Linked DNA regions of Homo sapiens: all the other regions are linked to region 5. The links are contacts of gene promoters, found by promoter capture Hi-C in human tissues and cell types (Jung and others, 2019). All regions are on one chromosome and are shown on one strand. The core of a region is centred on a gene start or on the middle of the fragment in contact, and the rest is flanking DNA. Distances in the headings are between cores, read along the strand shown.

What was found. The method cuts DNA at HindIII sites, captures the fragments that hold promoters and counts their contacts. A contact is called where the count stands out against the background at its distance.
Region 1: a fragment that was not itself captured here is called in contact with the fragment with the promoter of SLC25A1 in region 5 in 5 of the 25 tissues and cell types used here (dorsolateral prefrontal cortex, lymphoblastoid cells, mesenchymal stem cells and 2 more).
Region 2: a fragment that was not itself captured here is called in contact with the fragment with the promoter of SLC25A1 in region 5 in 7 of the 25 tissues and cell types used here (H1 embryonic stem cells, IMR-90 fibroblasts, dorsolateral prefrontal cortex and 4 more).
Region 3: a fragment that was not itself captured here is called in contact with the fragment with the promoter of SLC25A1 in region 5 in 2 of the 25 tissues and cell types used here (lymphoblastoid cells and mesenchymal stem cells).
Region 4: a contact is called between a fragment that was not itself captured here and the fragment with the promoter of SLC25A1 in region 5, in 2 of the 25 tissues and cell types used here (mesendoderm cells and spleen).

The regions. Positions count from the first base shown.
Region 1 is chr22:19,396,600-19,401,515 of GRCh38, forward strand. HIRA (histone cell cycle regulator) reads right to left here. Exons shown (of 25, transcript NM_003325.4): 6 at 1,393-1,488; 7 at 188-348. Among named protein-coding and RNA genes, the nearest start is that of HIRA, 33 kb to the right of the region's middle. The HindIII fragment of the contact is 4,821 bases long and covers 1-4,814 here.
Region 2 is chr22:19,318,062-19,323,281 of GRCh38, forward strand. The region is part of intron 1 of LOC105372859 (a long non-coding RNA gene); the gene reads left to right. Among named protein-coding and RNA genes, the nearest start is that of CLTCL1, 29 kb to the left of the region's middle. The HindIII fragment of the contact is 4,176 bases long and covers 1-3,728 here.
Region 3 is chr22:19,007,452-19,012,690 of GRCh38, forward strand. The region is part of intron 4 of DGCR5 (DiGeorge syndrome critical region gene 5); the gene reads left to right. Among named protein-coding and RNA genes, the nearest start is that of FAM246C, 19 kb to the right of the region's middle. The HindIII fragment of the contact is 8,579 bases long and covers 1-5,239 here.
Region 4 is chr22:19,377,511-19,382,635 of GRCh38, forward strand. HIRA (histone cell cycle regulator) reads right to left here. Exons shown (of 25, transcript NM_003325.4): 14 at 359-556. Among named protein-coding and RNA genes, the nearest start is that of HIRA, 52 kb to the right of the region's middle. The HindIII fragment of the contact is 6,067 bases long and covers 16-5,125 here.
Region 5 is chr22:19,177,456-19,182,084 of GRCh38, forward strand. SLC25A1 (solute carrier family 25 member 1) reads right to left here and starts at 1,281. Exons shown (of 9, transcript NM_005984.5): 1 at 1,125-1,281; 2 at 678-785; 3 at 487-586; 4 at 272-410. The coding sequence starts at 1,218. It overlaps CLTCL1 (clathrin heavy chain like 1), which reads right to left. Exons shown (of 33, transcript NM_007098.4): 31 at 3,276-3,351; 32 at 2,744-2,783; 33 at 2,018-2,514. The coding sequence ends at 2,764. RefSeq lists silencers at 498-1,577, 1,778-1,877 and an enhancer at 579-1,326. The HindIII fragment of the contact is 9,906 bases long and covers 1-4,629 here.

The sequences.
Region 1 (4,916 bases), core at 1,154-3,653, 220 kb after region 5:
TCTGTATTATCTGACTCTTAGGGCCAGAGTCCCACCCCAGAGAGCCTTGGTGAATCCGCTCAGGCCCCCGGACTCTGTGCATTCCCCAGGTGGCCTGGCCCATGGCCAGCTCCCTCTCTGTACACAGAAGTCAGGAAGAGGCTGGGGCAGCTGCGGGGGCTCAGCTCCCTGAGCTGTCCCCACTTACCTCATCAAAAGGCTTGGTGATGCTGGTCTCCAACTGCCAGTCCAGCGTCCTCCACACCTTTAGGCTGCGGTCATCAGCTTGAGAAGCTATGTATTTACCAACAGGGTCCCATGTCAACCCTTTGACCAAGCCAGAATGACCTCTCAGAGTAGCTAGAATTTCTGTGAAGAAAAAAGGAATGTGGAGAGGTGTTGTCTGAGGGAAACATGACCTGCAATCCATGGGCCATGGGATGGATATGCAAGAGAGGGGACTCAGCAGTCTGCCATGGCCAGCCCCCACACCAGACAGAAGCAGAAGGGCCTCCTCATTTGATCTCCACCAAGGCAAAAGCCAATTGAAGAAATGACAGCATCAAGGAGGCAGGCACCAAGGGGCTAGTTCTGATCCAGGTCTTATCTGTATCTAGCGGCCCTGCCTATGGCTGCCCTTCCTGGGCTGTGACACCAGCACTTCTGACGTTAGCCTCCCTGGTAGCTCCCTGATAAGGAGGAGGCCTACTAGCTCAAAGGGCCTGACTGTGGCTGAGTCTTTTATAAGTTATGGCTGAAGACAAAGGTGTGTACGACGGTACCCCATATAGATCTGTAATCCAAATGCTACTCCGGTCTCTAAAGCTTCCCTCTCCATAGCCAGACTGAGTGTTTCCACACATGCTGGTGGCTTTCAAAGAGTTAAAATGACCTGGATCCATAAGGAAAGCATACTTCAAATACAGAGCTGAAATATGAGAAGAATTTTACTAGTTATAAACTGCAGCACTGTGCCAGGTTATGCCATCTGTTGTGACTTTAAACACAATGAATAAGAAAAATCAATCTTTTGCAAAACTGGGTTTGTGTTAGCCCGTATCTGCTCAAGGGTTTCACAGAGGAGATGGTGACTGAGCTGAGCCCAGAGCCCAGTGGTGGGGGTGCACACAGCAGGTTTAGGAGCATCAGGGTCCCCAACAACAGCTGCCCATCCATTACCCTCCTGATCTGTGGCATGCCATGCTAGCACTCAGTTACCATTTTTCTTAAGCATGAATCTCTTTTTAAAGCTTAAACAAATGTAACTGACAAAGAAAAACTGACAAGACACATAAATCCTAGGCCACTGTGACACATCTGTTGCCACCAAGACTAAGGAGACAGCCCAACCCCTGCTCCAGAAACTGACAGGCAGTACTGCTTGCTGTTAACCAGTCAGAGGAGGCCCCAGACCTGGGAACTTTACAGCATTCCAGATGACGACAGTGTTATCCACGCTGCATGAGGCTAGCCAGGCATCGTGGGGAGACCATGCTACATCCATCACATCTGAAAGAAGACAGAGGGTTCTGGTGAGATCTCTTACCTGGTGATGCCCTTGTCTATTAGCTTGGCCAGTGCCCCTGGGACCTGGGACCATCATAACCACTCTGGTATTTTTTAACCAACCTGAAAAAACTCCCCCCAGAATTTTTCAATTGGTCATAAATTTAAAGCATCTAACCGACCCCAGTGCCTCACTCCTTTTACAGACGAAGCAACTGAGGGCGTGGTTCAGAGCTTGGGCACCATATGGCACCACACCCATGCATGAGAGCCTGCTACTTCGTGGGTCTGTGGCCTGGAGCATGCTCCTCAGCCCTGCTGACTTGCTTTGCCAATCATAACAGGGCCTTCCTCCGAGAGCCTTCTGAGCATGAGACACAGTGGGTAAAGCACATGGCAGAATGCCTGGCACAGTCAGAACTCCAGGGCTGCTGACAACTGAACACAAGTCATCTTGAGGCCCTCGTCTGGTTCATGGACTGGGTCTCATCTCCCAGACCCTGACAGGAGTACCCCTTCACTATGGAGCCTCCAAACAGAATTATTCACATTCACTTCTTTGTGACTCCATTTTATCATTTGTTAAGTGCAGATTAAAAAACAAAATCTAGGCCAGGTGCAGGGACTCACGTCTGTAATCTCAGCATTTTGGGAGGCTGAGGTGGGCAGATCGCTTGAGCCCAGAGGTACAATACCAGCCTAGGCAACATGGCAAAACCCTATCTCTACAAAAAATTGGCTGGGCTTGGTAGCACATGCCTGTATCCCCAGCTACACAGGAAGTTGAGGTGGGAGGATCACTTGAGCCCAGGGAGGTTAAGGCTGCAGTGACCATGATTGCACCACTGCACTCCAGGCTGGGCAACAGAGTAAGACCCTGTCTCAAAAAACAAACAAAAAAACCAATGAAACAAAAAACCCCAAAACCTATCCTCATAGGGTCACTGTAAGGATTAAATGTGATAAACTGCTGCAACACCATGCCAGGCACACACCAAGGCATCGATGAGGGTCCGCTGTGACGATGGTGCCAACCTTGCCTATCCTGCCATCAGGGGTGAAGGGCGCAGTCTTAGTTATTTCTCTAACCTCAGCGCCTGGTGCAGTGCTAGGTATACAGAAGAATGATTGGTGAGTTGAAGAAACAAACATAGCAGCAAGGTAATAGCTATCAAGTCCTTTCTTTGTACAAGAGGTTTAAGCAAAATATTCCAAATATCTATTGTATTTTTTCCAGTTAAAAAAAAACTATAGTAACAGCTTAACAGGTTTTTTTTTTTTTTTCAAATTGTCTCACATGCTGTGGTTCACATTTTGTATTCTAAATGCCTATGTGATCTTCACAGCTTCTTTCCTTTTTTGCCCTGCATTCTATGTGGTTGAGAGTATTCACTACTATTAATTGACCTAATTTAACACTGAAGATTAACTGGATTCTGGTTTTTTGGGCCCGTGTGTATTTGTCACTCTCCATACTCCAGATTATTACTCTGAGACGCATACCCTAGAGTGGGAATCCTGGGCAGAATATCTGAGCATCCTCATAGGTCTGGATTCTCATAAAACTGTAGACTGCTTTTCCAAGATCCCTGTGGTTTTACATTTCTACATGCAGACTGTTTGCTTCAAAACTCCCTTATTAGCATTGAGGATGATGACTTTTTCCCCTTCCGACTTATTTATTCAATACAATTTTATATTTAAAATTTTTAATTAGATTATTAGTGAAAGCGTTTGTCTCTTATCTAATGTGTTTTTGGACTGATTTGCTGACTTATTGTGACCATTTACTGGGAAGTGTTTCGGGCAGTGGGTCTAACAACATAAATGCAGTGCCTACAAAAATGAAGAAAACAACAACTTTCTCTAGTAACTGAGAGTCCTGGAGGGGCACACATGCAAACGCCAGGACAGCAGGGGAGTGCCCACATCCTAGAACAGAGAATATGTGGTTAGGTGGGAGCCCAGAAAGGAGAAGGGATTTTCTTAGCAATCTCCACAGACACATATAATGCAGCTATTAACTGCAAATTTCACCTCTCTACTTTTTTATACTGTAGTAGTTTTATGGAGTAAAGTCTGTTATTCTCCTTTGTGATTTCTTCTATTGCCTTGTTAACCTTGAAAAATATTCTCTCTGCTAGAGGTCTGGTAAATATTCAATTCTATTTTTTCCTTGTGTAGTTATTTAGAATGTTTCTCTCTTTAGTATCTGGTTTGGTGTGTGCTGTATTTGGTGAGGATTGAAATTAATTTCTCCTCACTAACTGCTTAACAGTTACTATGCTCCATGTGAGGAAGAATCCATTTTGATAAGCGATGCCTCCTTTCACAACACACCAACTTCTTAGGTATACTGTAGCCTCTTTCAGTGTTACGAGTTTACCCTCAAACCCATGATGTTTCTATCACTGGAACTTTGAATGTTTTCATCCGTAACATTCTTATCCTTCCAGATACGATCCTTTAGAATCACTGCTGAGTAAATCCACATACATGACATAATTTTCTCCTAAACTCCCAGTTTGGAGTTTCTGTCTTCAGACTATATAGCACCTCCTTTTTATGGTGCATCTACACACACAGGAGACCCTCCCCTCACTTGTAGATTTACATTTCTGGCCACTGTTCTCACCATCATTCTTGGTGACTCCAAGAGGATGATTCTTCTAACACTCCAGGCTCTTGGTTCCTTAAATTCCTCCTTCCCTTCTGATGACCGTGGCTTCCACTACTTTCACCCCACGGTCATGTCCAGAGGCCTTCCATGACAAATCACTGCAATCTGTCTCAATTCCAACCTTCCCACAGGCCAACCATCAGCCCCGTGCTCCTAGCTCACCCTCAGCTCCAACAGCACTTTCACGCCACCAGGAACTCCGATCTACTGATGCTGCCGTCCCCTCACCACTTGCCAACCACCTGGTCCTTACCTCTCTCCTCCAGCTGAGAGCCCACCACCACTCCCCCTTTTCTTCTCCTCCATCTTCCTACACGCCTGACAAAGCTCAGCTCCTCTCCTAGTGTTTTTTGAGTACTCTCCAATGACACCTTTGGCCCAATGACACCACATGAATATTGCACTTGCCTAGGCCCCCAGCACCCTCCATGCTGTCAAGCCCAGCAGTCTATCCTTGGTCTTCACTTTGCCCCTCAGCAATAAGCAATACGCTGCCTGTTCCCCTCTCCTTCAAATACTCTCTTCACTGTCCGTTTTGTTGTTGTTGCTGAGACAGGGTCTCGCTATGATGCCCAGGCTGTTGAGCTACTGGCCTCAAGTGATCCTCATGCCTCGCTTCTTTTCACTGTCTTAACTGGCCTCTCCTTCTAGCTTCTTTTTCTGGTTTCAGCTCTCCAATCCCTAGGCTCATCCTTGGACTCTGCTCATACCCAGAACCTCATATTTCCAAGATTCATATTTCCAAATGTCT
Region 2 (5,220 bases), core at 391-2,890, 140 kb after region 5:
CTATGTCCACATCCTTGTCAGCATTTGATACTGTCAGGTTTTTGGATTTTAGCCTATCTAATAGGTGTATAGTGGTTTCTCATTGTTGTTTTTGTTATTTATTTATTTATGTATTTATTTTAGAGATGGGTTCTTACTCTCTTGCCCAGGCTGGAGTACAGTGGTATGATCATGGCTCACTGCAGCCTCAAACTGCTGGGTTCAAGAGGTCCTCCTGTTTCTGCCTCCTAAGTAGCTGGACTACAGGCATATGCCACCATGCCCAGCTAATTCTCATTGTGTTCTGAATTTGTAATTCCCTAATGACATATGATGTAGAGCGTCTTTTCATATGGTTATAGCCATATGTATATCTTCTTTGGTGAGCTCCGTTCAGATATTTTGTCCATTTTTAAACTGGAATGCTTATTTTCTTATTTTTGCATTTTGGGAGTTATTCGTATATATTGGATACAAATCCTTTATCAGAAAAGTTATTTGCAAATATTTTCTCCAAGTCTGTGGGTTTTCATTCTCTTAGCAATGATGTTCTCAGAGCAGCAGTTAAAAATTTCTGTCTAGATTCTTTTTTTTATGTTTGCATGTGTAAAATGCAAAACTTCCTGAGTAGAAGGGACTACAGGTGCATTTATTAGAGCAGTATTTATTGAAAAGACTAATATTTTTCTATTGAATTGCCTTTGTTCCTTCATCAAAGATCAGTTGATTTCATTTGTTTGGGTTTATTTATGGGTTCTCTACTCCGTTCCTTTACCAATGTCACACTGTCTTGATTACTGTAGCTTCATAGTAAGTCTCAAAGTTGAGTAGTGTGAGTACTCTGGCCCTGCTTGTCTTCAATATTGAGTGGGCTATTCTGCATCTTTTGACTTTCCATACAAACTTTAGAATTTGCTTGTCAATATCTGCAAAATAACTTGCTGGAATCGTTATTGGAATTAAATTGAATCTATAATTGGTAAGCGCTAACACATTAATGTTGAGTCTTCCTACCCATGAACATGGAACTTATCTCCATTTATTAATTTAGATTTTTTATTTATTTCATCAGAGTTTTGTAGTTTCCCTCATATAAAGCTTGTATGTATTTTGTTAGATTTATACCTAAGTATTTTGATTATTTGGTGTTTATGTAAGAGGTATTAAATTTTCAATTTCAAATTCCAATTGTTCAGTGTTGGTTAAAGAAAAGCAATCAACTTTTGTATGTTAACCTTATATCCTGCAATGTAACTATAATAACTTACTAGTTCTCAGAGTTTTTTGTTGATTCTTTGGGATTTTGTACATAGATAGTCATGTTATCTGCAATTTTTTATACTTTATTTCCTTCTTCCTAATTTTTATACTTTTATTTCCTTCTTTTGTCTTATTGTATTAGCTAAGACTTCTAGTACAATATTGAATAGGAGTGGTGACAAGAGACATCCTTGCCTTTTCCCTGATATTAGGGGAAAAGCATATAATTTTTCACCATTAAGTAGTGTATGATGTTAGCCATACATACATACATAGTGGAATTATTGTAGATGTTCTTCATCAATTGAGAAAGTTCCCTTCTATTCCTAGTTTGCTGAGAGTTTTTATCATGAATAGGTGTTAGATTTGTCAAATGCTTCTTCTAAATGTATTGATATAATCATGATTTTCTTTTTTAACTTAATTGATGTGATTGATTACAATAACTTATATTCAACCATTAAACAAGTATGCATATCTGGAATACATCCCATTTGGTCATGTTGTATTTTTTTCATACAATGTTGGATTTGATTTGCTAATATTTTTATCATGGATAAAAGGGGCATTACTATCGGGTAAAATTCAGCCCCCGATATTTCACCTGGGTCCTTTTCTATTTTCCCTAAGTGTTGGCTGGTCTGAGAAATAAAGGGAAAGAGTACAAAAGAGAAATTTTAAAGCTGGGTGTCTGGGGGAGACATCACATGTCGGCAGGTTCTGTGATGCCCCCCAAGCCGCAAAACCAGCAAGTTTTTATTAGTGATTTTCAAAGGGGAGGGAGTGTATGAATAGGGTGTGGGTCACAGAGATCACGTGCTTCACAAGGTAATAAAATATCACAAGGCAAATGGAGGCAGGGTGAGATCACAGGACCAATGCGAAATTAAAATTGCTAATGAAGTTTTGGGCATGCATTGTCATTGATAACATTTATCAGGAGACAGGGTTTGAGAAAAGACAACTGGTCTGACCAAAATTTATTAGGCGGGAATTTCCTCATCCTAATAAGCCTGGGAGCGCTACGGGAGACCGGGGCTTATTTCATCCCTTATCTATGCCCATAAAAGACAGACGTCCCCAAAGCGGCCATTTCAGAGGCCTCCCCTTAGGGATACATTCTCTTTCTCAGGGATGCTCCTTGCTGGGAAAAAGAATTCAGTGATATTTCTCCTATTTGCTTTTGAAAGAAGAGAAATATGGCTCAGTTCCACCCGGCCCACAGGCAGCCAGACTTTAAGCTTATCTCCCTTGTTCCCTGAACATTGCTGTTATCCTGTTCTTTTTTCAAGGTGCCCAGATTTCACATTGTTTAAACAATTTGTGCAGAAAACGCAATCATCACAGGGTCCTGAGGCGACATTCATCCTCAGCTTACAAAGATGATGGGATTAAGAGATTAAAGTAAAGACAGGCATAGGAAATCACAAGGGTATTGACTGGGGAAGTGATAAGTGTCCATGAAATCTTCATAATTTATGTTCAGAGACTGCAGTAAAGACAGGTGTAAGAAATTACAAAAGTATTAATTTGGGGAACCAATAAATGTCCATGAAATCTTCACAATTTATGTTCTTCTGCCATGGCTTTAGCCGGTCCCTCCGTTCAGGGTCCCTGACTTCCCGCAACACATTACATCACAGTGGAAAGTGAGATAGTAAAGGAATATTATGAAGTACTCTATGCTCAAAGGGGGCATGATCCCTATGACAAAGGGATCCATTCTTCGAGAAGACATAACAGGCTGGGCATGGTGGCTCATACCTGTAATCCCAACATTTGGGGAGGCCAAGGCAGGAGGATCATTTCAGCTCAGGGGTTCGAGACCAGCCTAGGCAGTGTAGTGAGATCCCATCTACAAAAAAAAATTTAAATTGGCCTGGCATGGTTGTGCCTGCCTGTAGTCCCAGTACTTACGAGGCTGAGCTGGGAGGATCACTTGAGCTTGGAGGGTAAGGCTGCAGTGAGCTGTGGTCACACCACTGCACTCCAGCCTGGGTGACAGAGTAAGACTGTCTCAAAAAAAGGGGAAAAGACATGAAAATTACTATATTTCACTGAAGATTTATGAATTGCAAATAAGCACATGAAAAGATGTTGAACATCATTAGGTATTACGGAAATGCAAACTAAAGTTACACCTGTCAACATGGCTAAAATTAATAGTGACAACAAATGCTGGTGAGCATGTGGAAAAACTTGATCACTCATCCATTGTTGGAATGTAAAATGGTACAGCTTTGTGGAAAATACTTTGTCATCTTGAAAAAAACTGCACTTGCAGCTACCATAAGACCCAGTAGTTGCCCTCTTGGGAATTGCTTCCACAAAATCAAATGCTTATGTTCACACAAAAAATTTAATATCAGGGCTTAACTGTAATCACCAAAAATTGAAACTAGCCCTGATGTCCTGAGCAGATGAATGGTTAAATCAACAGTGCAGCAAAACCATGAAATACTCATTAGCAATAAATAAAAACTAATGAAGTAATAATATACACAACAACTTAAATTAACTCCAGATAATTATTCTGAGTGAAAAAAAAATCCAGTAGGTTAGGTAAGCATGACATTGACATAACATTGTTGAAATCAGGAAATTACAGAAATGGAAAACAGATTGGTGGTTAGCATGGGTTAAGAAAGTGGAATGGTGAAAGGGAAGTGGTGTGGCCATACGTGAGCAACACAACCCCACTTAGGTAGAATACACATCTTCTCAAGTAGACAAGGAACATTCTCCAGGGTACAGCATATGCTAGGTTGTAAATCAAACCTTAGTAAATGTAAAGGATAGAAATAATACAAAGTATTTTTAAAAACACAACGGAATACTATTAGATCAATAACAGAAAGAAAGTCGAGAAGTTGGGAAACCCACAAAGGTGTGGAAATTTAACAGCACACTCTAAATGACCAATGGGTCAAAGAAGAAATCAAGAGGGAAATTAGAAAATACTTTGTGGGCCGGGTGCAGTGGCTCACGTCTGTAATCCCAGCACTTTGGGAGGCCGAGGCGGGTGGATCACGAGGTCAGGAGATCGAGACCATCCTGGCTAACACGGTGAAACTCCATCTCTACTAAAAATACAAAAAATTAGCCGGGCATGGTGGCGGGCACCTGTAGTACCAGCTACTCAGGAGGCTGAGGCAGGAGAATGGCGTGAACCCAGGAGGCAGAGCTTGCAGTGAGCCAAGATTGCACCACTGCACTCCAGCCTGGGTGACAGAGTGAGACTCCATCTCAAAAGAAATTTTATAAAAAAACTTTTTAATTAAAAATTAAAGAAATACTATTATATATAGAGAATGAGGGTTTAAAAAAAAAAGAAGAAATACTATAAACAATTGTAGCTTAGATGAAATGAACAAGGCCGGGTGTGGTGGCTCACGCCTATAATCCTAGCACTTTGGGAGGCCGAGGCAGATGGATTACCTGAGGTCAGGAGTTCGAGACCAGCCTGGCCAACATGATGAAACTCCGTGTCTACTAAAAAAAAAAAACAAAAAATTAGCCAGTCGTGGTGGCAGGCGCCTGTAATCCTAGCTACTTGAGAGGCTGAGGCAGGAGAATCACTTGAACCTGGGAGGCAGAGGTTGTAGTGAGCCAAGATCACACCACTGTACTCCAGCCTAGGCAAGAAGAATGAAACTCTGTTTAAAAAGAAAGAAAGAAAGAAAGACAGACAGACAGACGGAAAGAAATGAATGAACAAATTTCTAGACAGACACAAGCTTCCATAACTGACTCAGAAGAAACAGACAATCCAAATATGCCTATAATAACAAATAATGAGATTGCTTTAGTAATAAAAAAAAACTACCCAAAAAAACTGCGGGCCCAAATGGCTTTACTATTGAATTCCACCAAATATTTTTTTTAAATACCAATTCTTCACAAACTCCTCAAAGAAAAATAGAAAAGGAGGGAATACTTCCCAACTCATTCACGGATTCTATAAGGCAACATCACCCTGAC
Region 3 (5,239 bases), core at 1,484-3,983, 170 kb before region 5:
ACATTCCCTTTGTGTGTGTGTGTGTGTGTGTGTGTGTGTGTGTGTGTGTGTGTGTGATGGAGTCCCTCTCTGTCACCCAGACTGGAGGGTAGTGGCGTGATCTCGACTCACCACAACCTCTGCCTCCCGGATTCAAGCGATTCTCCTGCCTCAGCCTCCCGAGTAGCTGGGATTACAGGCATGTGCCACCATGCTTGGCTAATTTTGTATTTTCAGTAGAGACGGGGTTTCTCCATGCTGGTCGGGCTGGTCTCAAACTCCCGACCTCAGGTGATCCACCCGCCTCGGCCTCCCAAAGTGCTGGGATTACAGGTGTGGGCCACCGCGCCTGGCCTGCACATTCCTTTTAATTGGCCACAGTATATTCATCAGAATTGGCCACATGCACTCTCAAAAAATTTCAATGAATTAAAATCCTTCAGAGTAAGTTCTCAAAGTGGAGGGAAAAATGTGATCTAATCAAAGTGATGAACAAAAGCATTTGATAAAATTCAACACCTGTTTATTAGTTTCCAAAAAAACCCCCACAGAACAAATTTCTAACAAACTGGGAATAAAGGGACTTTTAAAAAGATGATAAAGGGTATCTACACAAAATAATATTTATAGTGGACATTAAGCCTAATGGTGACTTATTGAAAGCTTTCTTCCAGAGATGAGGAAAGAGACAAGACCCTGCTCTCATCACTTCTATTCAGTGTTGTATGTAAAGCTCTACTGGGAGACTGAGGCAGGAGGATCTCTTGAGGCCAAGAGTTCAAGACTCACCTGGGCAACATAGTTAGATGCCCATCTCTACAAAAAATTAAAAAATAAAGTTCTAGTCAGGGCAGAAAGGCAGAAAGAGAGATAAGAAGTATAATACTTGGAAAGAAAGAAATAAAATTCTATTTGCAGACATGATTATGATGTAGGAAATACTAACAAAGATGCATGTAAAATATGAGAATTAATAGCAAGTGAAAAAAATTTCAGGATCTAATTTTTATTAGCATTTAAAAAATAAAGTACAGTGGCCAGGCACAGTGGCTCACGCCTGTAATCCCAGCACTTTGGGAGGCCGAGGCGGGCGGATCACAAGATCAGGAGTTTGAGACCAGCCTGGCCAACATAGTGAAACCCTGTCTCTACTAAAAATACAAAAATTAGCCAGGTGTGGTGGCATGTGCCTGTAGTCCCAGCTACTTGGGAGGCTGAGGCAGAAGAATTGCTTGAACCCAGGAGGCGGACGTTGCAGTGAGCTGAGACTGCACCGTTGTACTCCAAAATGGGCGACAGAGCAAGACTCTGTGTCAAAAATAAATAAATAAATAAATAAAAATTATAGCCAGGCTTTGCTGTGCCTGCAGCAGATTAGACACAGAATGCCTCATTTTAAAAGCTCATAATACCAAGTGTTGGCAAGGAAGCAGAGAAACAAGAACACTTGCACCCTGCTGATAGGGCTCTAAACTGTTCTCGCCAGTTTGGAAAACATTGGCACTATCTGCTGAAGTTGAATAGTCTCCTTAAGAGTCAAAAGCTGGAAACAACCCAAATAATCATCAAGACATGAATGGACAAATGAATTGTGATATATAAGGTATACAAAACAAGCAAAAAAAAAGAACAAACTGTTGCAACATGCAGCAGCGTGGATGAATCTCACACGCATAATATTGAGCAGAAGCAGCCAGATGCACGGGAGTCTGAACTATGATTCCATTTAAATGAAGCCAAAACAGTGGTGGGAATTAATCTATTATAATATGTCAGAAGAGTGGTTATCTTTAGGGGAATTGAGGGAGGCTTTCTGGGATTCTGATTACATTCTGTATCTTGATTTGGGGGAGGTGGCTACATGGTGTATTCACTTTGTGAAAATGCTTTTAGCTGTACTTATCATTTGGGTACTTCATGTATATTATACTTCAGCAAAAATTAATAAAAAATATTTTTGGTATTTTCAGGAATGTTGTTGCCCCAATTATCTGTGGTTCTGAGGTTTTTATGTCACATGTTTCTGATATTTTACTCTTCTTCATTTATTCCAGATGATTTATTAAGATCCATTAGATTCATTTTCTTTTCTATATAAAACAAATTATTTATAGTATAGTGTATTCGTTTTCTGTTACTATTGAAATTACTACAAATGTAGTGGCTAAAACAACACATAGTTTTCAGCTTAGAGTTGTGTTGGTTAGAAGTCCAGCATGGCTCTTACTGGACTAAAATCAAGGTGTCAGCAGAGCTGTGTTCTTTTCTCAAGGCTTTAGGGGAGAATCTGTTTCCTTGCCTTTTCCAGCTTATAGAGGCAGCCATGTTTTTTGGCTTGTGGCCCCTTCCTCCATCTTCAAAGCCAACAGCTGGTCAAGTTGTCACATTGCGTCACTCTGACCATAGGTTATCTGCTTTTAAGGTCTTGTGTGATTTGATTGGGTCCACCTGGACCATTCAGGATCATCTTCCTGTCCTTAAAATTCTTAATCACATCTGCAAACTCTCTTGCCATGTAAGTGAACATGTTCAGAGGTTCCAGAGAGTAAGACATCAATAGCTTATGGGGCTACCACAGATACCTTATACAATTATCTCCTGAAAGTTGAGTTTCTAGGATTTAGTTGTGTTATTTTTTTTTATAACTTGCATACCATACAACTCACCAAGTTGGACAGTTCAGTGGTTTTTAATGTATGCACAGAGTTGTGTAACCATCATCACAATAAATTTTAGGATATTCTCACCACCTCACAGCCCTAGGCAGCCACCATGGGTTTGCCTGTCCCAGACATTTCATGTAACAGGAATCATTTGTGGTCTTTTGTCACTGGCATCTTTCAGGTATCATTTTTTTTAGGTTCTTCCATGAGGCATGTGTTAGTACTTCACACCTTTCTATGGCTGAATGATTTTTTTTTTTTGAGACAGAGTTTCTCTCTTGTCACCCAGGCTGGAGTGCAATGGCGCGATCTCAGCTCACTGTAACCTCCGCCTCCCGGGTTCAAGCGATTCTCAGGCCTCAGCCTCCCAAGTAGCTGGGATTACAGACATGCACCACCACACCCAGTTAATTTTTGTATTTTTTTTTTTAGTAGAGACAGGGTTTCACCATATTGGCCAGGCTGGTCTCGATCTCCTGTCCTTGCGATCCGCCCGCCTCCACCTCCCAAAGTGCTGGGATTACAGGTGTGCACCCTGATAAGTGACAAGTGCTGATTAATTTGCATTTCTCTCATTATGAGTTAGGTTGATCATCATTTTCTGTATTTGTGTGTGTGTGTGTGTAAATTGATTGTGTGATTCATTCATTTTGCTCATTCTTCTGTCTTTTTTTGGTCTTTTTCCCTTCAATTTTAAACCATTTTGGATGTATTAGGGACCTTAAGCATTTACTTGTGAGATATTGCAAATATACTTTCCCAGTTTTTTATGTTTTTAAATTCTATTTATGATGGTTTTCTCGTCATGCAATAACATTTTCACTTTTTTTAATTAAAAGGATTTTTTATTTTTAAGATTTTAATTTTTATGTAGTCACATCGATCAAGTCTTTGTTTTACAATTTCAGATTTAAAATCGTAGTTAGAAAACCCTGGACTTTATATTTGATATGGTGTGAAATAGGTCTCAGCATTTATCTTTGCCCCCTTTGTGTATACACTTGACCTAGCACTATTTGCTGGAAGACTCTTGTTTTCTGCATTGCTGCTTTGGTTATAAAACATGTGTCTATAAATATGCAGCTTCTTCAGAGACTGTTTTACTAGTTTATTCTTGTGCCAGTGCTGTATTGTCTTAATTATTATAAGTGCAAAGTTTGTGATTTGGTGCCCTTGTGTATATTTAACTTTGTCATTACCCAAAGGCAAATTGTAACCAGAGAAGTGTGATGAGTAATCCACGTTGACATGACAATGGAGGGTGGTTTTCAATGTAATTATTATCAAATGAAAGAATATTTAACTTACGGAGGAAGAAAGATTAGTTCAAAGACAATTTTACTTTTATTAGCAGGATATAAAAGAAGATTGAAAATATAAGAATATGTTGAGTTTATTTACTGGCTAATAGAGGAGGGACAAATTGGCAGGAAAGTGGTATGACTTTCATTGTGTGACTTTTTGGCATCATAGTTGATGGCCAGTTTTTGTGAACAGAAACAAGTCTTAAAGAATATGAACAGGCCAGGCGTGGTAGCTCACACCTGTAATCCCAGCAGTTTGGGAGGCCGAAGCAGGCGGATCGCTTGAGGCCAGGAGTTTGAGACCAGCCTGGCCAACATGGCGATACCCTATCTCTACTAAAAATACAAAAGTTAGCTGGGCGTGGTGGCACACGCCTGTAGTCCAGCTACTCAGGAGGTTGAGTCAGAAGAATCGCTTGAACCCAGGAGGGGGAGATTGTGGTGAGCCAAGATCATGCCACTGCACTCCAGCCTCAGTGATAGAGTGAGACTTTGTCTCAAAAAAAAAAAAAAAAAGAAAGAAAGAAAAAGAAAAAAGGCTAAGCGCAGTGGCTCATGCCTGTAATCCCAAGCACTTTGGGAGGCCAAGGTGGGTGGGTCACCTGAGGTCAGGAGTTTGAGACCAGACTGACCAACATGGTGAAACCCCATCTCTACTAAAAATACAAAATTTAGCTGGGCGTGGTGGCGCACGCCTGTAATCCCAGCTACTCAGGAGGCTGAGGCAGGAAAATAGCTTGAACCTGGGAGGTGGAGGTTGCAGTGAGCCGAGATTGTGCCACTGCACTTCAGCCTGGGCGACAAGAGCGAAACTCTGTCTCAAAAAAAAAAAAAAGAATATGAACAGTCCTTGAAATTAATGAAATTAGTGCAGTGTCTCTCTCTCTTTTTATGTATTCTAGATTTCATAATGTGACAGCCCTAAATCATAAATCACCAGAGTTAAATTCTGTTTAATTCATTGAAAATATTGATCCCTTTTTCTGCCTCTTTTTTTTGGGGGGGCAGGTGGGGACAGGGTCTCACTCTGTTGCCTAGGCTGGAGTACAGTGGCGTGATCACGGCTCAGTGCAGCTTTGACCTCCTTGGCTCATGCGATCCTCTCATTTCAACCTTCCCAATAGCTGGGACTACAGACATGTGCCACTTTACCCAGTTAAATTTTTAAATTTTTTGTACAGACAGATTCTCCTTATGTTGCCCATGATGGTGTTGAACTGGGCTCAAGTGATGCACCTCGGCCTCCCAAAATGCTAAGATTACAGGCATGAGCCACTGTGCCCAGCCTTTTCT
Region 4 (5,125 bases), core at 1,799-4,298, 200 kb after region 5:
TCAGCAGAGTGAAGTGGAAGCTGAGGCCCCAGAAATGTGAAGCACCTCCAGTGTAGAGCTGCCAGGTGGGGCTGACCCTGCAGCACGTAGCATTTCACTGGTAGTTCCCACCCTTAGCAGCCTGACCCTCGGTCAGCCTTGATACACTCTGTGAAATCCTCAACAGTCCTGTGCATCAGAGACTCACTGAACAAGTCCTCCCCTCTGAGAAGTCCCCATTTCAAATCACGCATTTTTTTCTTTCTTTTTTGATTGAAGGGGCCACAAAGTGCAAACAGAATAAAATTCTCTGTCCTCAAAACTATGTGCAAACCTGAACTTTCCCCAGGGACAGGAACAAGCCTTGGCACCCACTAACCTGTCTTTATTGACAGAATCGCCTGCAGGTCTGGCACTGGCAGCCACCACAGGCTCTGTGCAAGGCTTCGAGGCGCCGAAGGAGTTAGGGGTACTGGAGTCCAGTGGCAGTAGCTGTGGACTGCTATGAGAAGAGAGCATGGTGCCCGCCAGGGAGCCCGAGAGGGGGATGCTGTTAAAGAATGCCGTGGAGAAGTCCCTGTCATCAAGTAAGAACAAAAGTCAGCCTTGAAAGTCAGGTGCCACATCCAGTACTTTATACATTCAAATAACTTTTTTCTAGGTCCAAAGGCAGTATGTTTTCATGATAGAAAATCTGCAAAGTTACAGAAAAGTAAAAAGAAAATTAAAGCCACTTAATATACTATATTTAATTGAATCTAGGATTTACAGGTTCTATATGTACTACTAAGAAAGAAAACAATGCTACTAATTGTCAGATGCCATTGACTGTACAACACACCCAAATCTCAGAGGTGTTAAACTGTGCAAACACATGTCTTAGGAGGAATGAAATGCAGCAATACAGAAAGGGCCTCCCTTTCATGAAGGGCCATGGGGCATGCCACTAGATGGGTGTGCCATAATATACCTAACCCAGCCTCTACTGAGGGACCACAAGACTGTCTCCAGCTTTTTCTAGAACAGATGCTGCTGCACCAGGAAGCAAGGTATTGCAGTGTCAGAACTGAGGATTCTGGGACAGCCAGGTCTGACTCCTCTGCCATTTGTTAGCTTGTGACTTGCTCTAACTACTCTTGTGCCTCCAGTCATGTCTGCAAAATACAAAGTGCCAGGACTCTCCCCATGGGGTTGCTGTCAGGACTAAAGCAGTTGGTGTAGGACACTCTTAGAACACACATTGGCTGCTCAAAGAATTATGAAATTCTAATAATTGTCATTACACCTAAGATTCACATAATATATGGGATAAATTCTTAGAAGTGGAATTGTAGCAGCAAATGAAATGTTCACTGATGATTTGGAATAAATATTTCTAAAGTGCCCTCCTCAGAGGTTTAAATTACAAGCCATGTATGAGAGCGCCTATTTCTCCACATAGGTGCTTAGTAACACTTTTATCAAATTTCTTGACACTTAACAATCTGACAGAAGAAAAATGGTATCTTATTTTGATATGAGTGACGTTGACATTTTTTCTTTTTCTTTTTTTTTTTTGAGACAGAGTCTCTCCCGCCGCCCAGGCTGGAGTGCAGTGGCGCGATCTCGCCTCACTGCAAGCTCCGCCTCCCGGGTTCACGCCATTCTCCTGCCTCAGCCTCCCGAGTATCCCGCCACCATGCCCGGCTAATTTTTTGTATTTTTAGTAGAGACGGGGTTTAACCGTGTTAGCCAGGATGGTCTCGATCTCCTGACCTCGTGATCCGCCCGCCTTGGCTTCCCAAAGTGCTGGGATTACAGGTGTGAGCCACCGTGCCCGGCCGGCAGTTTTTCAAAGTAGAAATACTTGATTTCCGGCCAGGCGCAGTGGCTCATGCCTGTAATCCCAGCACTTTGGCAGGCCGAGGCGGGTGGATCACGAGGTCAAGAGTTCGAGACCAGCCTGGCCAACATGGTGAAACCCCGTCTCCACTAAAAATACAAAAATTAGCCGGGCATGGTGGTAGGCGCCTGTAATCCCAGCTACTTGGGAGGCTGAGGCAGGAGAATCTCTTGAACCAGGGAGGCAGAGGCTGCAGTGAGTTGAGATCACACCACTGTACTCCAGCCTGGGCAACAGAGTGAGACTTCGCCTCAATTAAAAAAAAAAAAAAAGAAATACTTGATTTCTTTTTTTTTTTTTTTGTGAACTGCTTGTTCATATGCTTTGTCTACTGTTTTGTTATTGGTCTTTATTACTGATTTGTAAAAATCATTTACATATTAAAAAAATTCCTTATATGGTAGGAAATATTTTACCTGGGATGTTGTGTTTCAACTATTTATGGCCTTTTTTTTTGAGACGAAGTCTCGCTGTGTCGCCAGGCTGGAGTGCAGTGGCGCAATCTCGGCTCACTGCAACCTCTGCCTCCTGGGTTCAAGTGACTTTCCTGCCTCAGCCTTCCAAGTAGCTGGGACTACAGGGGCGTGCCACCACGCCCAGCTAATTTTTATATTTTTTAGTAGAGACGGGGTTTCACCATGTTGGCCAGGATGGTCTTGATCTCTTGACCTTGTATCCATCTGCCTCAGCCTCCGAAAGTGCTGGGATTACAGGTGTGAGCCACCACGCCCAGACAGCCTATCTTTTAAATGCACTAAAATTTTAAAATTTTTGTGTACTCTAAATTGTCATTTACAGAAAACACTTTTTTGACCTCTGAGATTATAAAAAATATTCTTCCAGGGAATCTTCTAAAATTTTAAACAAAAATATTTTAAATAACAATTTAAAAAGAAACAAACTATAAGCTGTTTAGAATGTATGTAATGATAAGTTATGAGGCTGGGACCCAACATTGTTTCTAGGAGGTGCCATGTAGTCCTGTCTTCCATTTACCGAATTAGCCAATGTTTTATCACTGATGTGAAATGCTACCTTTAAAATTCCCATAAATATTCGGGCCTGTTTCCTCATATTCTATCATATTCCACTGCACTATCTACTCATGTGTCAGTATCTCACTGTTTTGAGTTATGACAGCTTTTAAGTCTTAATTTCTGGTGGGGCTAGTCTTCCCTGGCTAATCTTCTTTTTCAGAAATATTTCGGCCATTCCTATTTATTTTTCCAGATAACTTTATTTTATTTATTTATTTATTTGATACAAAGTCTCACTCTGTCACCCAGGCTGGAGAGTGGCACTATCTTGGCTCACTGCAACCTCCCAGGTTCAAGCAATTCTCCTGCCTCAGCCTCCAAGTATCTGGGATACAGGTAGTAGCTACAGTAGCTACAGGTGGGCACCACCACTCCCAGCTAATTTTTATATTTTTAGTAGGGACGGGGTTTCACCATGTTGGCCAGGCTGGTCTCAAACTCGTGACCTCAGGTGATCTGCCTGCCTCGGCCTCCCAAAGTGCTGAGATTACAGTTGTCAGCCACTGTGCCCAGTCGATTTTTCCACATAACTTTATAGTTACCTTGTCTGATTCCCAAAATTCCTACGGTTATTTGTACTGGTTAAATTTATAGGCTACAAGAGAGCTGACATCTTTATGATGCCATCCTAGCTAATCAATGGTATGAATTTCTAGTTATTTCTTTGAGTTTTCTTTGAAGCCTCTCAGTAGGGTTTTTAATTTTTTCTTCATTAAGATATGCATCTCTGGTTGCATCCTAGTTATTTTATTTGTGAATATGACTTATTTCTTTATGTGCTCTGAGGGTAGTTGGTGCTACCTGACTTCATGTTGATTGTATCCTGCCATGTGACTATCTTCTTTCATTGCCTATGGCAGCTTTTCCAGTTGATTCTCTTATAAACCATATCATCCTTAAATAATTATCCTTTCCAATTTGTTCTTTCCTTTGACTAACTACATGGGCTAGGACCTATAGAACAATGTTAAATTATAGTTGCAAGAGTAGGCATTTGTTTAGTTTTTGAACTTAATTTGAAATAAGATAATTTATCAAGTTAAGGAAGCATCCACCTATTCCCATTTAACTGAGTTTTAAAACAACGTTGAATTTTACCAAAACGCCTATTAAGCATCGATGAGAGATCATATAATTTTTTTTCTTTTGATCTACTGATACGTAGAATTAAATAGTTACCTAAAATTTGAACCTCCTTACTTTCCCAAAACAAACCTCACTTGGTCATGGTATATTAGCCTTTTAACAAGCAGTAAGGTTCTGTTTGTTACTATTTTACTTAGGATTTTGCACTGACATTCAGAAATGAGAATGATCTTGAATTTATTATGTTTTATCCTTGTAAGATTTTGATATATTATGTTCATTTCAAAATAAAAATTTGCACATTTCTTCTCCATGCACTAGAATATTTAAAATGGTATTAACAGTTACCTGAGTTACCTGTTCCTTAAAAGTTCCTGAAGTTTCCCTGTGAAGCCATCTTAGTCCGGTGGCTTTGGTGGGGTTAACTCTGTCCTCTATTTCTTCCACAATAATTTTTCACTTTTAGTAATTTTATTTTCTTCAAAAACCATCCACTTTCTGTGCAAATTTATTTGCACAGAGTTCAGCAAAGAAGTCTCTCATCTTTTTGATTTGTCTATTATTTCTCACTTATACCTACTTTGTATATTTATGCTTTTTCTCTTCTTTCTTGATTAGCTAAGCTAATAAGGACCTATCCTGTTGCTACGTGTTAGAACGTGGGAATCAGGAGGGCAAAAAGCTTTTAATACCAAAAGGATCAGGTCCTGATGCTAGAAATATGCATCCTATGTCAGAAAGTTGGCCCCAGACCAGTTAGGAAGCCACCTACACCTTCTCACCAGGTAACGCCTGGAAGGATCCACAGAACAAAGTGTCACCATCACCACCACCACCTCCCCATCCCACAGGCCCAGTATGTTCAGAGCTCAACCACACACTGGGTCTCACTTGGTCTCAATAAAAGGTAGGTAGGGGCATTACCCCCTACAGGGTCACAATAGGAAAAAGACTTAGTCAAAAGAAAATGAGTGCTCTGTGGGGAGCCAGCAGACCTGGTTCTTGCTCTACTCGTGGGGACCTCAGAGCCTGCACATCTAACATGAGGAGACTGGATCTGTACACTGTACGAGTGAAGGTTTCTTTAGACACCAAGGAAGATTTGGAATAGCTCGTGGATGGACAACTGCAAAACGCAGAG
Region 5 (4,629 bases), core at 31-2,530:
AGTTTTGGCAGTGAAGGTGTCATTTTGTTTTCTGCTTTATAAAAGTATTTTTTAAAGACTTTAAGGCTGCCTTTAGCATAGACTCAGCCTCCACGGGTGGCCCTTCGTGGCAGGCGTCCTGCCCCAGGGCCCCGCGGTCACCCCGCCGGCCTTCCCTGGCGTCCAGGAGACCCTCCCCAGCTTGCCGGTTGCCCCGGGAGCACCGGGCCAGCGGGGCCGCCCGTCTCCGTACTCCCTGCGTGTCCGGGGTCCTCGCCAGGACCTTCCCCACCTTGATGGTCTCCATGGGGCACACGACCACCACGGCCTCGGCCACGCCAGCGCCCAGGCCGCACAGCAGCCCACGCGTGCTGTCCAGCCGTCCCTGGGCATCCCGCATGTGGTTGCTGAGGAACTCGAACATTCCAAACCTGGAGGCGGGAGGCGGGTGAGAGGGGCTGCCGCGGCCGAGCCCCCCTCCCGCAGCAGCCACCGGCCGGGCCTCACCTGACGGCCGCCTTGGGGATGGAACCGTAGAGCAGGGAGCTAAGGCCGCGGTACAGGCCCAGGACGCCATGGCTGCGAACCGTCTGCCGCACGCAGTCCCCTGGGGGAGGGGGCGGTCAGGACCCCACGGCCCTCGGTGCCGCCGCCCTGGGTACCCGCCCCCCGCGGCGCCGCGGCCTCCCCCTCCTCACCGATGCCCCGGTACCGCGGCGGGTGCGAGCGCTCGTCCAGCTGCAGCTGCGTCTTCACGTACTCGGTGGGGAAGGTGATGCAGATCTCGATGCCACCCGCCAGGCCGCCTGCAGGGACCGGGAACCCGCTCCTGAGACTCCCGCCCGGCCGCTGGCGCTCGGGCCCCTCCCCCGTCCCGGACTTCGGTCGGCGCGGCCGCCGCGCCAGTGCCGCGGGGAACATAGGCTGGGGCCCCACGCCCCCATGCCCTCACCCCGTTGTCCCGGCGAGGCGCAGGGGGTGACAGACGGGAGGCGGGCGAGTCCCAGCGCGCCGGGTGGGGACCAGGACCGCGCCTCCACGACTCCCCAGCCCACGGCCCAACCCGGAAGTGGGGCGGGGCCTCAGCGTCCCGGGCCCACCCAGAAGCGCGGCGGGAGAGGGGTCCGCGTCCCGGAGGGGCCCACCTGCCAGGATCGCCTTCCCCGGGTGCGTCAGCTTGGCCTTCCCGGACGCGGGCGCGGCGGCCGCCAGAGCGCGCGGGGCGCGGGGCGCGGGCATGGCGGGCGGGAGGCGGGGCGCCCTGTGGCGGCTTCGGGTCCGAGACTCCAGAACTCCGCGCTCGGTCCGCGGTGGCGGCGGCGGCCGGTTATGGTCCCAGGGGCGGGGCGGCCGCGTCAGCTCCAGGTCCCGCCCCGCGTGGTCCGAGCCAGGCCCCGCCCCCAGCCCGCCCCGTGCGGGCCGGGAAACTGAGGCCTGGGCGGGGCGCGCCGAGGCAGGCGTAGGGGCGGGGCCAAAGCGCAGCCAATGGCCGAGGCCGAGTCCCTGGGCGACCGCGAGCGGCGGGACGGGGGCGGGGCTGCGGGAGGCGGAGCCGTGGCCCAGCTCCGAGCAGTGGGTCAAGGTGCACTGTGTGCCGCGCCGCGGGATAGCGGGCCTCGGGTCTGCGCGACTGTCGAGAGCGGCGGGATCCCCAGGGATCCCGGAGGCCAGGGGCACACCCTCCCCGAAAACACGTGGGGCTAGCCCAGTCCCAGAGGAACTCTAACGTTTCAAACCTGGAGGCGGGAGGCGGGAGGCCGGTGAGAAGGGGCTACGCCGCCGGGCCCCCCTCCCGCAGCAGCCACGGGCCGGGCCTCACCTGCCGGTTCCCACCCACACCTTTCCCGGTTGTAGTTTCTGCGCTCAGCGAACAAGGTCAGGAAAGACCACAAATGCAAGCGGCTGTATTCTCCTAGGCAGCTTGTCTGGGCAACGGAGGTCCCACACCCCAAAGAGGACCCAGCAAATCTTTAATGGACTGCGGGGCCTAGGAAACTGGCCCGTCCCTCCTACCCATACCAGCACCAAGCAGAGCACCTTTGCCTGGATAAACCGACTTTAATATTTATGATTGCCAAGAGGCTGAGAGTCCTTTTATGAGGTCCGGTACCTCCAAACAAGACGTGTTCATGTAGTCTTCAAACTGGCCTGGAGGGGGCAGCTCCAGCCAGTCGGAGGCGCCCAGGAGGAAGGCCTGGCTCCAGCAGGAGGGCCCACAGTCCAGTCTCTGTTGTCGGCTAAAGCTGGTCTTGCGCCGTCAGCCTCTACCCTGGCCTCCCCAGGCTCTGGGATGGCTCAGAGGTTGCCGTCATTGGGTTTCAGCAAAAATAAATATTGTCCAGGTGTCCCTGCCTCCCATTGCGTCCCCTGTGCTGCTGGAGTGACATGCTCCTTGGAGAAGTTAGTAACTCTGCAGGTAGGGTGGGTGGTGACAACGCCCACTACACGCGGAAGTTGTACATTGGAGGCTGGCGAAGTTGGGAGCAGAGGCATATCCATAGGGGAAGCTGGCAGGGGCTGGGCCCACGGCAGGGCCTGCAGAGGGGGAAGCCCACAATGAGCAGAGCTCTTCCTGCCCATGGGGGTCCTCTCCTGGCTGCCCCTGAGTAGCCCGGGGCCCAGGGAGCAGGGTCTATAGGACCAGCCCTTACCACCCAGACGCTGAGGCCCCAAGAGAGCAGGCATCCAGAGGCAAGGAGCGTGGGGTCAGCCAGAGAACCTGGCCTGGCTAGAGGATAAGCTAGTCTCCAAATGGGACACTTACTTAGTGCAATCAGCTGGGTCTCATTCATGCCCATCAAAATCTAAAAAAACCAGAATGACATTAATGGTGGAAGGACACACTCAGCCGGACGCTGGAGACCCGCCGGCGTGCTGCACACTCACACCACACCCTCAGGCCTGTGTTTGCCCCACAGTGTCCAAGCACCCCACAGCCTCTCCAGTCTGCTCGACAGCCAGGCTGCCCTGGGCAGGTTCTCAGGTGCAAAGCCCCTCCCAGCACACACCAGCAGCAGCCTTGCTGTCCAGGGGCCAGGCCCAGCAGGACACAGCAGTAGTTCACAGCTAGGCAGGCACCCCTATCAGAAGGCAGGCATCCTTACAGCAGGGAGGACAGCGGCCGTGCCAACATTCCTGGGCGTACACTTCTCCACACCCAGTAGCCACTGGGATCCTTCCAGCCCCCACCCATCTATTCCCATCCCCATCCAAAGCCCAGCCAGGTAAGGGCAGTGGGACTTTGACTCCCTCCCTGCTCCCTCCCCAGGGGGTTGGGGGCTACAGGTGCCACCTACCAAACACGAGAGGGGCAGGCTCTGTCACATGCTCCTCTTGCTTGCGCAGACTCTCCAAGGCATCCAGTTTGTCCACCTGCAAGGAGGCAAAAGCACGTGAGCACCCGCTTGACAGAGTGCAGTCCGGCCTCTAGGTGAAAGTGGAGTGGAAGGTCAGGACACAGGGCCTCCAGGAGAATGACAGTGGAGGAGGTGCACATGGGCAGATGTGGAGTGGCTCAGCCCACACCCCATGCACTTTTAGAATGCAGCAAGGCATGGAGAGGTGAAGCCTCGGTAGCTGGGCTGAGATGGAACGCCAGGTGGGGCCCCCAGAGCTTCCCAGTGGGCACTGGGGCAGTCAGTTGTTACAGGCTGTGCATGTGGCCTGCTTATGGGGGGCCAAGTCCTCCTCTGGATACAGGGACACTGCCACTTACCGACCTGCAGGGCTGGGGCCATGTGCAGGGAACACTGTCTGCTTCTGGCTCTGGCCAGTCTAGTTTGCCCGCCCCTCCAAACCAGCAGAGAGATCATGTGGCTCTCAGAGACAAGTCACCTGGCACCTAGACACTTCACCTGAGAAGCACTGAGGACAAACTGCCTCCTCACTCTTCCCTGAGGCTTCACCAGGCACTGACCCCACCCACTGCCAGAGAGCGAGGCGGCAGCACTGCACTAGAGGGGCGGCAGCAACTGTGCAGCTAGGATCCCCTCACAAACACACTGAGTAAGAAAGAGAAATAAGAATGTGCCCCCCATGAGCTGGGGTCTGGGGGGGGCTGAGAAATGAGGAGGAAGCAGGGGGCACACTTGCTGACACCTAGGGTGAGGGCTGAGCTAGGCCTGTACCCTCCCTACAATGGGAGAGCGCTGGGGGCGTCTCAGAGGGATGGCCCTCAAGCTTCCCAGATGAGCCACGAGGCCCCAGGCCCAGCTGTCCACCAGGAAAGGACTGTGCTTCTTGTCCGCGCCCTCATTCTCCCAGCACTGCTGTGTGGTGTCAGCTGAGCACCAGCTCAAGCTGACAATCAGCTCACACCCCCATGCCACTGACTGGGAAACCCCTTGCCAGCCCCCTCCTCTCCTTGAACTCTCCCCATGACAGGCGTCTCATCTGCCCCAGCAGGAATAGGTGGGTGGCAGCAGAGAAGGTGCTCCAGCAGCCACCACCTCCCAGGGCCAGTGGAGTCTGGGAACCCTGGGCCAAGGCTGTGCAGCCACAGTGTGGACCAACGTGATAGTGGCTGCTAACTCCATCATCCGCAACAGAAAGGGAATGTGCGCCTCAAAGTCCTGGGGGATCCCCACAAGCACTTTGACCCCCACAGCAATGACACTCCCTAGGGCCTGGTGAGCCTGAGTTCCTCTGACA